Regions from separate parts of the Homo sapiens genome. Here all the other regions are linked to region 3. The links are contacts of gene promoters, found by promoter capture Hi-C in human tissues and cell types (Jung and others, 2019). All regions are on one chromosome and are shown on one strand. The core of a region is centred on a gene start or on the middle of the fragment in contact, and the rest is flanking DNA. Distances in the headings are between cores, read along the strand shown. Region 1 overlaps HORMAD1 (HORMA domain containing 1). Region 2 has its middle 6.3 kb from the start of VPS45. Region 3 holds the start of PRPF3 (pre-mRNA processing factor 3).

Region 1 (4,358 bases), core at 957-3,456, 390 kb after region 3:
CTGTTTACAGTCCCTCGCGTGTACAAAAGTGCCTGCTCAGCCGGGTGCTGTGGCTCACGCCTGTTATTCCAGTACTTTGGGAGGCCAAAGCGGGTGAATCACTTGAGATCAGGAGTTCAAGACTAGCCTGGCCAACACGGTGAAACCCCATCTGTACTAAAAATACAAAAATTAGCCAGGCATGGTGGCGAGTGCCTGTAGTCCCAGTTACTCAGGAGGCTGAGACAGGAGAATTGCTTGAACCCAGGAGGTGGAGGCTGCAGTGAGCTGAGATTATGCCACTGCACTCCAGCCTGGGAGACAGAGCAAGACTCTGTCTCAAACAAAAAAAAGTTCCTGTTTCCCCACATCCTTATCAATAATGGATTAACACGTTTTACCAATCTGATAAGTGAAAACTGTTAACTCATTGTTAAATTTGAGTGAGGTTATACTTCACATGGATATGTTCCTATCACTAGAGAAGCATCTATTTTAAAGCTTAATTTTGTAAATCTTTCTTTCTTGAATAGTGATATTAAGTGTAAATTTTATAATTTCAAAAAATTTAGGTGCTAAAAATATTTGGAATGGAAACCAATTGTTTCAATAATGATAAAACATATGTACCAACTGAAACAGGATGTATTGCAAATAGTACCTTCATCATAGTAAAAAAGTTTCATGGTCAAACAAACATCATTAGGTAAAGGCCCCAGATTTTGCATTAGGATATAAATCTTGCGAATGAGGAGAATGCTTGCTTTCTTGGTGTCAGTAGACAACATGCTAGATTCGTTGCTTTGGTTTTTACTAGAAGAGAATCACATATTAATTTATTTTATAAAACCTGTGGCTTCTAATATCATAACTTTACATTTTAACTATTTGAGATTCTTATTTCTATTATAGCATTAAGCTGTTAACTTGAAAGTTACCATGTGTTTTAATGTCACTATTATAAAATTTTAATATTAATATCTGCTAGAAATAATAACTTAATTTTACTTAAGTGCATTTTATATGAAGTGTTTAAAGAAAGCACATTATGTTTTAAAATTATATTTCTATATTTCTAATCACCTAAGTTCTCTTTCCACAATTAAAATTGCTTATTATTAGCCACAGAATCCTGGCTTGAAGCTACTGCAAGCCACCACTCCATTTTGCATAGCCACATCTTGATGGTTAATTGGGGATGTCCCCGCAGTTTCAGAATGAATCCTGAGGTTTAGCTATATAGCATTAATATGAATAAGTGGTAATCTGTAATACAAACAGAAAACTATAGAACAATACCTTATGAAGTCCATGAGTGGTCCATTATTGGTGTATTTGAATTTGAATTGGTAACATTCTGAAATTGTCTTAAATAGAAAATATCGCAGTTATGCTTCTGATATTCAGTACTAGCTGCTAAATAGCTATATTCTGTTTTGTATGACTCAACATTTAGTCAATACTTTTTTCTGCCATATTAATCCCTATTGATCCATTGAAACTTTTGATTCCTCATAGTCAGTTTTCATGGTTTGGGTTTGGGGCTTCAGTCTTGGAGAGACATTTATTTCCCAACTCATTGTAATGTATGTTATTGTAGGGAAAAGAGAGATCAGACTGTTACTGTGTCTATGTAGAAAGGGAAGACATAAGAGACTCCATTTTGAAAAAGACTTGTACTTTAAATAATTGCTTTGCTGAGATGTTGTTAATTTGTAGCTTTGCCCCAGCCACTTTGACCCAACCACTTTGATCCAATCTGGAGCTCACAGAAACATATGTTGTATGAAATCAAGGTTTAAGGGATCTAGGGCTGTGCAGGACGTGCCTTGTTAACAAAATGTTTACAAGCAGTATACTTAGTAAAAGTCATCGCCATTCTCTAGTCTCAATAAACCAGGGGCACAATGCATTGCGGAAAGCCGCAGGGACCTCTGCCCTTGAAAGCGGGGTATTGTCCAAGGTTTCTCCCCATGTGATAGTCTGAAATATGGCCTTGTGGGATGAGAAAGACCTGACCGTCCCCCAGCCCGACACCCATAAAAGGTCTGTGCTGAGGTGGATTAGTAAAAGAGGAAAGCCTCTTGCAGTTGAGATAGAGGAAGGCCACTGTCTCCTGCCTGCCCCTGGGAACTGAATGTCTCGGTATAAAACCCGATTGTACATTTGTTCAATTCTGAGATAGGACAAAAACCGCCCTATGGTGGGAGGCGAGACATGTTTGCAGCAATGCTGCCTTGTTATTCTTTACTCCACTGAGATGTTTGGGTGGTGAGAAACAAATCTGGCTTACGTGTACGTCCAGTCATAGTACCTTCCCTTGAACTTAATTATGACATAGATTCTATTGCTCACATGTTTGTTGCTGACCTTCTCCTTATTATCACCCTGCCCTCCTACTACATTCCTTTTTACTAAAATAATGAAGATAATAATCAATAAAAACTGAGGGAACTCAGAGACCGGCGCCGGTGCAGGTCCTTGGTATGCTGAGCGCCGGTCCCCTGGGCCTACTATTGTTTCTCTATACTTTGTCTCTGTGTCTTATTTCTTTTCTCAGTCTCTCGTCCCACCCGACTAGAAATACCCACAGGTGTGGAGGGGCAGGCCACCCCTTCAGTTATTTATACCACATGGAAGGAACTCCTTAGCAGGCAGATAAGGGAGGCAACATACCTCAGCAGAGTGGCTAACACAGGGCATAAATCTTTGCTATACTGTAACCACAGGCAAGCCACTTAAGCCTTAGTTTAAGTATTAGTTTCCCCAGCTAAAAAAGAGATTAAAGACAGTACATATCTCATTGATAGTTGTGAATAAATATTCACAAATGGGATAATTTATACAGGGTACTTTATAAAGTACCTGACATATAGTAAACATTCAATAAATATTATTATTGTATCAACAAGGTTGCTAATTTACTGATAGAAAAAATGCACAACTATATAACATATGAAAATAAATGAACATTTTCTGAACAATCAATTAGTTTTCTGAACACAATCTATTAATTCACAGCCTTTACCCAAATGATCTGCTTTGTCAGCATGGATACATATTAAGCATTAATCGCAGGTGTGAGTATCAAAGAAAAGACACATTCTCAGCCCTCCTGAAGCCTGAATACTTCTATTGCTTTCTTTATATTTCATTGCTTACATAGTGATGTTTTTAAACGTCTATTTTTAACACCAGTTTAAATCTACCTCTCCTTGACTGAATGAAACGTTATATTGTAACAGCTATAGCGTAATGGGTAAACACCCAAATTGTGAACTGGCCTTCCTAGGTTCAAAAACCTGGTTCTGCCACTTCAGCCACTATGACCTTAGGCAAGAAACCCCTTGTACTTAGATTTCCTCATCTGTAAAGCGGAGATGCTAATAGTGGTTACCTCATGAAGGTTGGGATGAATAAATGAGATAATGCACATAAAGCCCCAAAGAACAGAGCCTAATATAAAGTAAGCACTCAGTAGATCTTTCCCCCTTGTTTCTTATCTTCTGGTTTTCCCTTTCACGTTCTCCCTTCTCTCCTTTAATGGTAAGATAAATAGGTAGCTATGAATGGATTGGGATGAATATTCGAAGTTTAAGGATGACTTTCTTACTTTCCTAAAACTCAAGCCCTTTCATAATTCTAAAATGTAGTATAAAAAATACTATAAAGAATTAGACGTCAGGAGATTTAAGTTAAGTTTCTAACAGTTTGTAAGCTTTGTGGCCTAAGATCAGTCACATAATCTCTGTCATGCTAATCTGTTTAAAGGTAACAATCCAAGCCCTGCCTTACCTCAGAAGAGTTTTATGAAGCTCAAATGTGAAAATATATATGAAAGTATATTGATTAAAGCATAATTAAAAGCATAAGATATTCTTATATTATGTTTCGTGTTATTTTTAGATATTAGAGGCATTATGTTTCTTTAGTAACTCAAGCACACTTACCTGAGGATCTTCTGGGTTTGTGTATACCTATTTAAAAACAATTTACAATTGAGTTATCTAAGGCTAAGTATTCAAGAACTAAATTAGATGTTTAGACTAAACTTCATGTGAACTCAGCAAAACAAACAAATAAAAATGACCACCCAAAATATTACTTTTTCATTCCATTGAATAGATCAGTTATTTGAATAATGTGACATAATCAATTGATAGTTTTAGTGTCATTTAATTAAGCAAGGCCAAATTTGGCAGTATTAAAAAAAGAACACACAATTTAAAAATACTTACAGCTAGAACAACCATCCTTAGCTGAAATACAACAAAGAACAAAAATCTTACTTGTAGTCTATAAAATAATTTTTCATTACGAATCATAAGAATTCTTTGTCCTATTTCAACATGTATTCCTAATAACAAATAATCATTGCA
Region 2 (3,910 bases), core at 514-3,013, 260 kb before region 3:
TGTATTTTTAGTAGAGACGGGGTTTTTCCATGTTGGTCAGGCTCGGTCTTAAACTCCCAACCTCAGATGATCTGCCCGCCTCAGCCTCCTAAAGTGCTGGGATTACAGGCACGAGCCACCATCATATTCTTTCTTTAATGCCCAGTCTAGGTAGGGAAGATTAACATTTACTAATATGTTCATTAAAATAAACATAAAACTCGGCTACTCTGGGCACACTGCCTATGGAGCAGCCTTGCTCTTCAAAGAGAGGGAAAAAAAGAAAGAAAAATTATTTTAAAATTATTTTAAAACATAAACATAAAACTTAATAACAATGTAAATACAAAATATTCAGCTAAAAGTTGGAAGGGTTCAGACCAATATGAATTACATGATCCATTACATCTGTTTGCCATTGCAAACAAACAAAAAAAACCAGCAGTCTTTTGATTTAGAATATTTTTAGTCATCTCAACCATTTCATGAAATAGAAGATAGTTTAAAAGAGAAAAAAAATCCAGGATAGAAGTAGGGCCATATGTTCCTATTTAATATTGGCATATAAAAGAGAAAATACAAGTAATATCAGCGTGACTCCTTCAGTGAGATTTCAATGCCTCATCTCACATATTTTCAGGCTATTAGGTGACATCTAGGGCTGAAGGATTTATTCACCAGTTAGCATCTGTTAGGTGATGAACTGTGTCCCTGCAAAATTCCTGTGTTGAAGTCCTGACCTTCAGTATCTCTGTATGGGATTGCATTTGGAGAAAGGGTCTTTAAAGAGGTAATTAAGGTTAAACGAGGTCATTAGGGTGGGCCCTAATATGATTGGTGTCCTTATGAGAAGAGATTAGGAGATTAGGACACAGACACCACATAGAGACCATGTGAAGACACAGGAGAAGACAGCCATCTATGAGAGGCCTCAGAAGAAACCAACCTTTGACACTTGACCTTAGACATCTAGCCACCAGAACTATTGAGGAAATACGTTTCTATTGTTTAAGCTACTGAGTCTGGGGGTACTTCGTTATTGCAGCCCTCTCAAACTTACATAGCATCTGACATACAAGATATGCAATAGGTATTTACTGAAGGAACGAAGGTTACAGTTTATCCAGCAATTAATTCTGCCCAAAGCTGAGGCTGAAGGTTGACTTTCCACCAGTAAAGTCAGATTAAATATTTATTATGCAGTAAGACAGGCAAAAAGCTATTATTAAATATGAGGAATATCCACATACCCTCTACCCATCTTAAGAAATGAAGCATCAGCATTATAGTTGAAGCACCTATGCTCTGGTTCCCAGTGGCATCCCACTTGCTCCCATGCTAGAAATAACCACTAATTGAATTTGGTTATCATTCTCGTGTAGGATTTATTTTTTCTCTTTTCTTTTCTTTTCTTTTTTTTCTGAGACCGGGTCTTGCTGTCCCCCAGGCTGGACTGCAGTGGAACGTTCATGGCTCACTGCAGCCTCAAGCTCATCGCACCCGGCTGACTAAAACAAAAAACAAAAAACAAAAAAAATTTTTTTTGTTTAATTTGTAGAGATGGTGTCTCCTTGTGTTGTCCTGGCTGGTCTCAAACTTCTGGCCTCCAACAATCCTCTTGCCTTGGCCCGCAAATGCTGGGATTATAGGCGTAAGCCACTGTGCCCAGCCACATGTAGCATTTCTTCATACACCTATCTATAGGTTTGTAGCCCTAAACAATATACTATTATTTTTTGCATGTTTTCAAATGTTATATAAATAATATCATACTCTACAAGGACTATGTATGTTGTTTCTATACCCCTACCATCTTTTTGAGAGTCAACCATATGGATGCCCTTAACTCTGGTTTATTTGTCTTAACTGCTAAATATGAATATAGTATTTTGTTATAAAATCATACCATGATTTATTTATTTATTCTTCTGTTGACGGACATTTAGGTTGTTTTCAACTTTTTTGCTATTATCAGCAATACTGTTAAGAACATTCTCATACGTGTCTCACATACATGTGAGAGTTCTCTAGGGCAACGATTTCCAATTCCTTTCATGACCGCACATAGGAAATCTTGGAAAAGCATATAGGTAAAAAAAAGGAGGCTGTTCATAGCCAGCAGTGACCTGCCCAGGGGCTCTGGCTGCCCCAAGACCTGCTTGGCTACTCCTAGCCTAATAACAAGTGTGGGGACAAGAGTGACTTTATTTTAAATGCTAATCTGCCACGTAACTTCTGACTAACCCCGAGTCTGGGAATGCCTCCAGAATGTCTAAATGATGTATTAGTCTTTATGTAAGAACTTCTATTCACTGTAAGTTTCCTCCTAAACCACACTTGATGCAATTGCAGAAATCATAGGCTGTGATGCCCACAGCCACCTACATACTCCTTCCAGATCACATATACTTTCCCTAAGATATAAGCCCTGGGTCTGGAAGGTTTCGATGCAGAGATCTACCTGTCATGCAGCTGCCCAGAACCATATTTCTGTCTGTACATTCCCCTAATAAATCACTCAAAACTGACAAACTGGATTTGTCTGCCTCCTTCTTTGCCTTCTCAGCTCCTTCAGCATTTGGGGGCCACTTTGCACATATGGCCCTTTCACGGAACAAAGAAAGGAAGCTTCCTTGGGAGTTTCCATGGAAGGAAGAGGGAAATATACCAAGGGGACGAATTTTTGAGTACAAGAGTATGTACAGTATATCTTTAGCTTTTTAATGTCCACATTGCTCTCCAAAATGTTATACCAATTTTTACACTTCTGCTGGCAATATATGAAGTGTTGTTCTACATTTTCACCAACACTTGGTATTATCAGACATTTTAATTTTTGGATATGAAATGGTAATTCCATTGTGACTTTAATTTGCATTTTTTAGATTACCATTGAGCATCTCTTCGAATGTTTACTAGTCATTTATTTCATTTTCAGCGAATTCCCTTTTCTAATCTTTTGCCAAGAAATTATGTCTTACTCTGAGCAACTGTTCTTTTCTACCTGTGTTAGCTAGGAATCTCTCTTAAACAAAAGCACATTCTATTTTATATATCAGAGCAACTTACAAAACTACCATAGTGCACAGTCTACATTTTGAAAGCTGCTAATCTATAAAATGGTCTAGAACTGATTAAAAAGTGAAGGGGGAAACCTGACATACATTTGTTTTCTTTTTCTTCTTCTTTCTTTTTTTTTTTTTTTTTTTTTGAGACGGAGTTTCACTCTTGTTGCCCAGGCTGGACTGCAATGGCGCGCGATCTCGGCTCACTGCAACCTCCACCTCCCGGGTTTAAGCGATTCTCCTGCCTCAGCCTCCTGAGTACCTGGGATTACAGGCATGCACCACCACGCCCGGCTAATTGTGTATTTTTAGTAGAATCAGAGTTTCACCATGTTGATCAGGCTGGTCTCAAACTCCTGACCTCAAGTGATCCACCCATCTCCGCCTCCCAAAGTGCTGGGATTACAGGCGTGACCCACCAAGGCTGGCCCTGACTTATACTTATAACAAGCTCAAATCACCAAAAATTTCACTCAGACTAGATCATTTCATCCTTGGGAATGCAAAGATCTTATTTAACTAAATTTTCAGTTACTCAGGTCTCTGAGTATATTACCTGTAGTTTCTGCAGATAGAAATGGTTCTAGGCTAGGCATGGTGGCTCATGCCTATAATCCCAGCACTTTGGGAGGCCAAGGCAGGCAGATCACTTGAGGCCAGGAGTTCGAGACCAGCCTGGCCAACATGGTGAAACCCTGCCTGTACTAAAAATACAAAAATTAGCCAGTTTGGTGGCGGGCACCTGTAGTGCCAGTTATTGAGGAGGCTGAGGCATGATAATCACTAGAACCCAGAGGCAGAGGTTGCAGTGAACCAAGATGGCACCACTGCACTCCAGCCTGGGTGACAGAGCAAGACCGTCTCAA
Region 3 (3,817 bases), core at 874-3,373:
TCACGATACCTTTTTGAAGTAGAGATTCTTATTCTATAATTGAGGAAACAATCTCAGAAAAAATTACCTGAAGGAAACACAGCTAGTAACCGGAAAGCTACAGTTTAAATGTATCCAATTCTAAAAATTGGAAATAAAATCAGTTTTGTTTTGTCGAGATGGAGTCTCCCTCTGTCGCCCAGGCTGCAGTGCAGTGGCGCGATCTTGGCTCACTGCAACCTCCACCTCCCGGGTTCAAGCAATTCTCCTGCCTCGGCCTCCTGAGTAGCTGGGATTACAGGTGCCCACCACCACACCCAGCTAATTTTTGCATTTTTTTTAGTAGGGATGGGGTTTCACCATGTCGGCAGACTGGTCTCAAACTCCTGACCTCAAGTGATCCACCCGCCTCGACCTCCCAAAGTGTTGGGATTACAGGCGTAAGCCACCACACCTGGCCTAAAACCAGTTTCTAGAAACACATTTCTCCATAGGGAATTGAACGCAGACTGTTAGAAGCACCAAAACAAAATAAATTTACAACAACCCTGCAATGTTGAAACTCATTAACCCATTCAACAGACTTTTTGAGTGAATATTTTGTGAGACATTGGTGTTAGAAGCTGTAGGTGGGGAAACTGATTTGTGAATAAGTTGAGCAGTAGGTTCAAACTCCCCCAACTTGTTCCTTCAGAGCCAGGCTTTATCCTGTTATGTCGTGCTGCCCCATCAGGGAAGGTGGGGCTTGGTATGTACATTGTTATCTTTAGATACAAAAATCTCCTACTATCTGGGGAATGTGAATAACCTCCCTGAAGAACAACTGCATCTTCTAGTCAGCCTACCACCAAGAAGACATTTTGGAACTTTAGTTTGGATAGTTTATAATATAAAAATAATGGAATTTTTTCCATTTCTCATATAAGAAATTGTGTCATAATACTGGACAATCTTTTTCCAAACTATCTTTGTCCACACACATGTTGTTATGAATCATCGATTTAAAGAGTCAGTAGGGGCCGGGCGCGGTGGTTCAACCCTGTAATCCCAGCACTTTGGGAGGCCGAGGTGGGCGGATCACGCGGTCAAGAGATGGAGACCATCCTGGCCAACATGGTGAAACCCCGTCTCTACTAAAAATACAAAAGTTAGCTGGACGTGGTGGTCGCGCGCCTGTAGTCCCATCTACTCGGGAGGCGGAAGTTTCAGTGAGCCGAATGCACTCCAGCCTGACGACAGAGCGAGACTCCGTCTCAAAAAATAAAAAATAAAAATAAAAAATAAAGGGTCAGTAGGTTAGAGCCTCATTTTGGAGAGAAGTTAATATATAGACCTATTGATAGAATGGAGAAAACAATACTGGTAGGTCTCACTTGTCATTTATTGAGCCCAAAGTGCTGGGATTACAGGCGTGAGCCACGGCGCCCGGCCTGACACCACTGTTAAATTAGGGAGAAAGGGTTTACTTTCTACCAGAAAGGCTGTGTTTGAACACAAACGCAGAAGCCTCGCTCTTCATTCTAGCCTAAGTTTACTTTTGCGCACTTATTCTCCATATGAGGAAAACAGCAAGTAGCCCAATTTCCGCTTCAGGAAGTTAAAGACATTAACTTGGCAGAAATCGGCCGGGCGCGGTGGCTCACGCCTGTAATCCCAGCACTTTGGAAGGCTGAGGCGGGCGGATCACGAGGCCAGGAGATCGAGACCATCCTGGCTAACACGGTGAAACCCCGGCTCTACTAAAAATACAAAAAATCAGCCGGGCGTGGTGGCGGGCGCCTGTAGTCCCAGCTACTCGGGAGGCTGAGGCAGGAGAATGGCGTGAACCCGGGAGGCGGAGCTCGCAGTGAGCCGAGATCGCGTCACTGCACTCCAACCTGGGCGACAGAGCGAGACTCCGTCTCAAAAAAAAAGCTAAAAAAAAAACCTTGGCAGAAATCTAGCTAATAGGTTTAGCCTGGGAAATAGAAAGCAAGGAAATTGCTCAGGGAAACTTTTCGGTTCTGCGACGCATGCGTTCAGCCTCCAAGAAAGTGGCAAATACGGCTGCGCGAATTGGCGGCCCGGCCCTCCTTGGTCACGTGTTGGGAGACAGCGGCGTGGCGGCGGCGGTGGCGGTAGCGACGGCACGCCGTAGGGCGGTCAGAAGGTTTCCGGTTCCGGTGTAACGTTCGGGCTCCGTCTCAGGGGCTGAAGTTTGTGAGGTGAGTAGTGGCCCCGGGCCCACAGAGGGTAATTCCAGTCCGCGCCACTGTGGCCGGGGACTCAGTCCAAGGGGAGGACCGAAGCGGGAGGGTTCAGCGGGAAGGAGTGTGAAAGGAGTACCTGGTTTGGTGGGAGAAGAGGTTGGAATGAGATTGTTGAGAGGAAAAGGGCGGGGGCGGGAAGGAGACCGGGTTGGGAGACCAGCTCTGGGGTGAGGAGTTTAGGTAGAACAAGGTAGAGTAAGAGACTGGTTGGAGTGACGGAGAGAGTAAAAATGAAGATTAGCGGGGGAGTGGGGGGCTGCAGAGGGAAACTCAGGTTGTAGCAAACAAGAGCACGGAGTAAGGAATTCCTTCTGAAGACTGGATTTGGATTCTGCTGCCTGCTCATTGAGAGGAGAGATCATTGTACCTCGCTTTCCTTCCGCACCCCCACTACCCCCGCACCTCGCAGTTATTGTTGAGCATTTGATTAGTGACAAGGCTAATTACCGTTTGAAACTTTTTTATCCATTGGCTGTTTAGTTTGCACGTCATCTTATGGAGGTAACAGTGGCACCTCATTTATTGCTTTGGGCTTTCAAATTGCTTATACTTTCTAGCCTATCATTCAATTCTAGTGGAATATAAGACCCGTTAAGGTGAGGACTCTTGTTAGTTTTGCTCACTGTTTTATGTATCCACCGCACCTAGTACATTGCTTGACACTTAGTAGTTACTCAATAAATATTTATTGAATGAATTAGGATGTAAATATGGCAGTACTCATTTTGTAAGATGGTAAACTGTGGCTCCAAAGAATTACTTAACTTGCCCAAGGGCTTGTAAATGGTGGGGCTCAGTGTCCCAACTGTTTCTGTGTGAACTCTTGTTTTCACTTTCTATGGCATCTGGATATGCCGCTTTTGTGCAATACATGTGTAATATGTAGAAATTGGTACGCTGTATGTCTACTCATTGTGGGGTAATAGAACCACCATAGAATTACTCACGTAACTTGTCACTGAGGCAGAAAATCTTTCAGTCTTAGTTTCATCACTTCAATCTACTAGCTTCCTTTGGATATACCAAAAGTGAGTCTATTTGGCATCAAGTCTTATAGACTCTAGTATAGAGGCTAAACTTACCAAGAATGTAGAAGTTAATCAGACTGGATTTTTTGGAGAAAAGATGTCTTAAAACATCTTGAAAGATGATTCCCAGATCTTTGATAAGTGGCACTGCTGGGAATAGCTGAGCTTGGAAATTGAGGTCAGTCAATTTATTGACTCCCATTTAGACACCTTTTTTTTTTTTCCCCGGGACGGAGTCTTGCTCTGTCGCCCAGGCTGGAGTGCAGTGGTGCGATCTCGGCTCACTGCAACCTCCGCCTTCCATGTTCAAGGGATTCTCCTGTCTCAGCCTCCAGAGTAGCTGGGATTACAGGTGCAGGTCACCACGCCCAGCTAATATTTGTATTTTTAATAGGGATGCGGTTTCACCATGTTGGCCAGGCTGGTCTCGAACTCCTGACGTCAGATAATCCACCCGCCTTGGCCTCCCAAAGTGTTGGGATTACAGGCGTGAGCCACCGCACCTGGCTTTTTTTTTTTTTTTTTTTTTTTTGGAGACACAGTTTCACTCTGTCGCTCAGG

Evidence for each region. Contacts are between HindIII fragments. The study calls those that stand out against the background at their distance.
Region 1: a fragment that was not itself captured here is called in contact with the fragment with the promoter of PRPF3 in region 3 in 1 of the 25 tissues and cell types used here (heart left ventricle).
Region 2: a fragment that was not itself captured here is called in contact with the fragment with the promoter of PRPF3 in region 3 in 1 of the 25 tissues and cell types used here (adrenal gland).

The regions. Positions count from the first base shown.
Region 1 is chr1:150,707,616-150,711,973 of GRCh38, forward strand. HORMAD1 (HORMA domain containing 1) reads right to left here. Exons shown (of 15, transcript NM_032132.5): 6 at 4,218-4,238; 7 at 3,930-3,956; 8 at 1,279-1,346; 9 at 641-792. Among named protein-coding and RNA genes, the nearest start is that of HORMAD1, 11 kb to the right of the region's middle. The HindIII fragment of the contact is 4,564 bases long and covers 1-4,358 here.
Region 2 is chr1:150,059,540-150,063,449 of GRCh38, forward strand. It overlaps a transcript of OTUD7B not described here. Among named protein-coding and RNA genes, the nearest start is that of VPS45, 6.3 kb to the right of the region's middle. The HindIII fragment of the contact is 8,735 bases long and covers 1-3,910 here.
Region 3 is chr1:150,319,410-150,323,226 of GRCh38, forward strand. It overlaps PRPF3 (pre-mRNA processing factor 3), which reads left to right and starts at 2,124. Exons shown (of 16, transcript NM_004698.4): 1 at 2,124-2,183. RefSeq lists enhancers at 1,238-1,803, 1,933-1,982, 2,173-2,222. The HindIII fragment of the contact is 24,557 bases long and covers 1-3,817 here.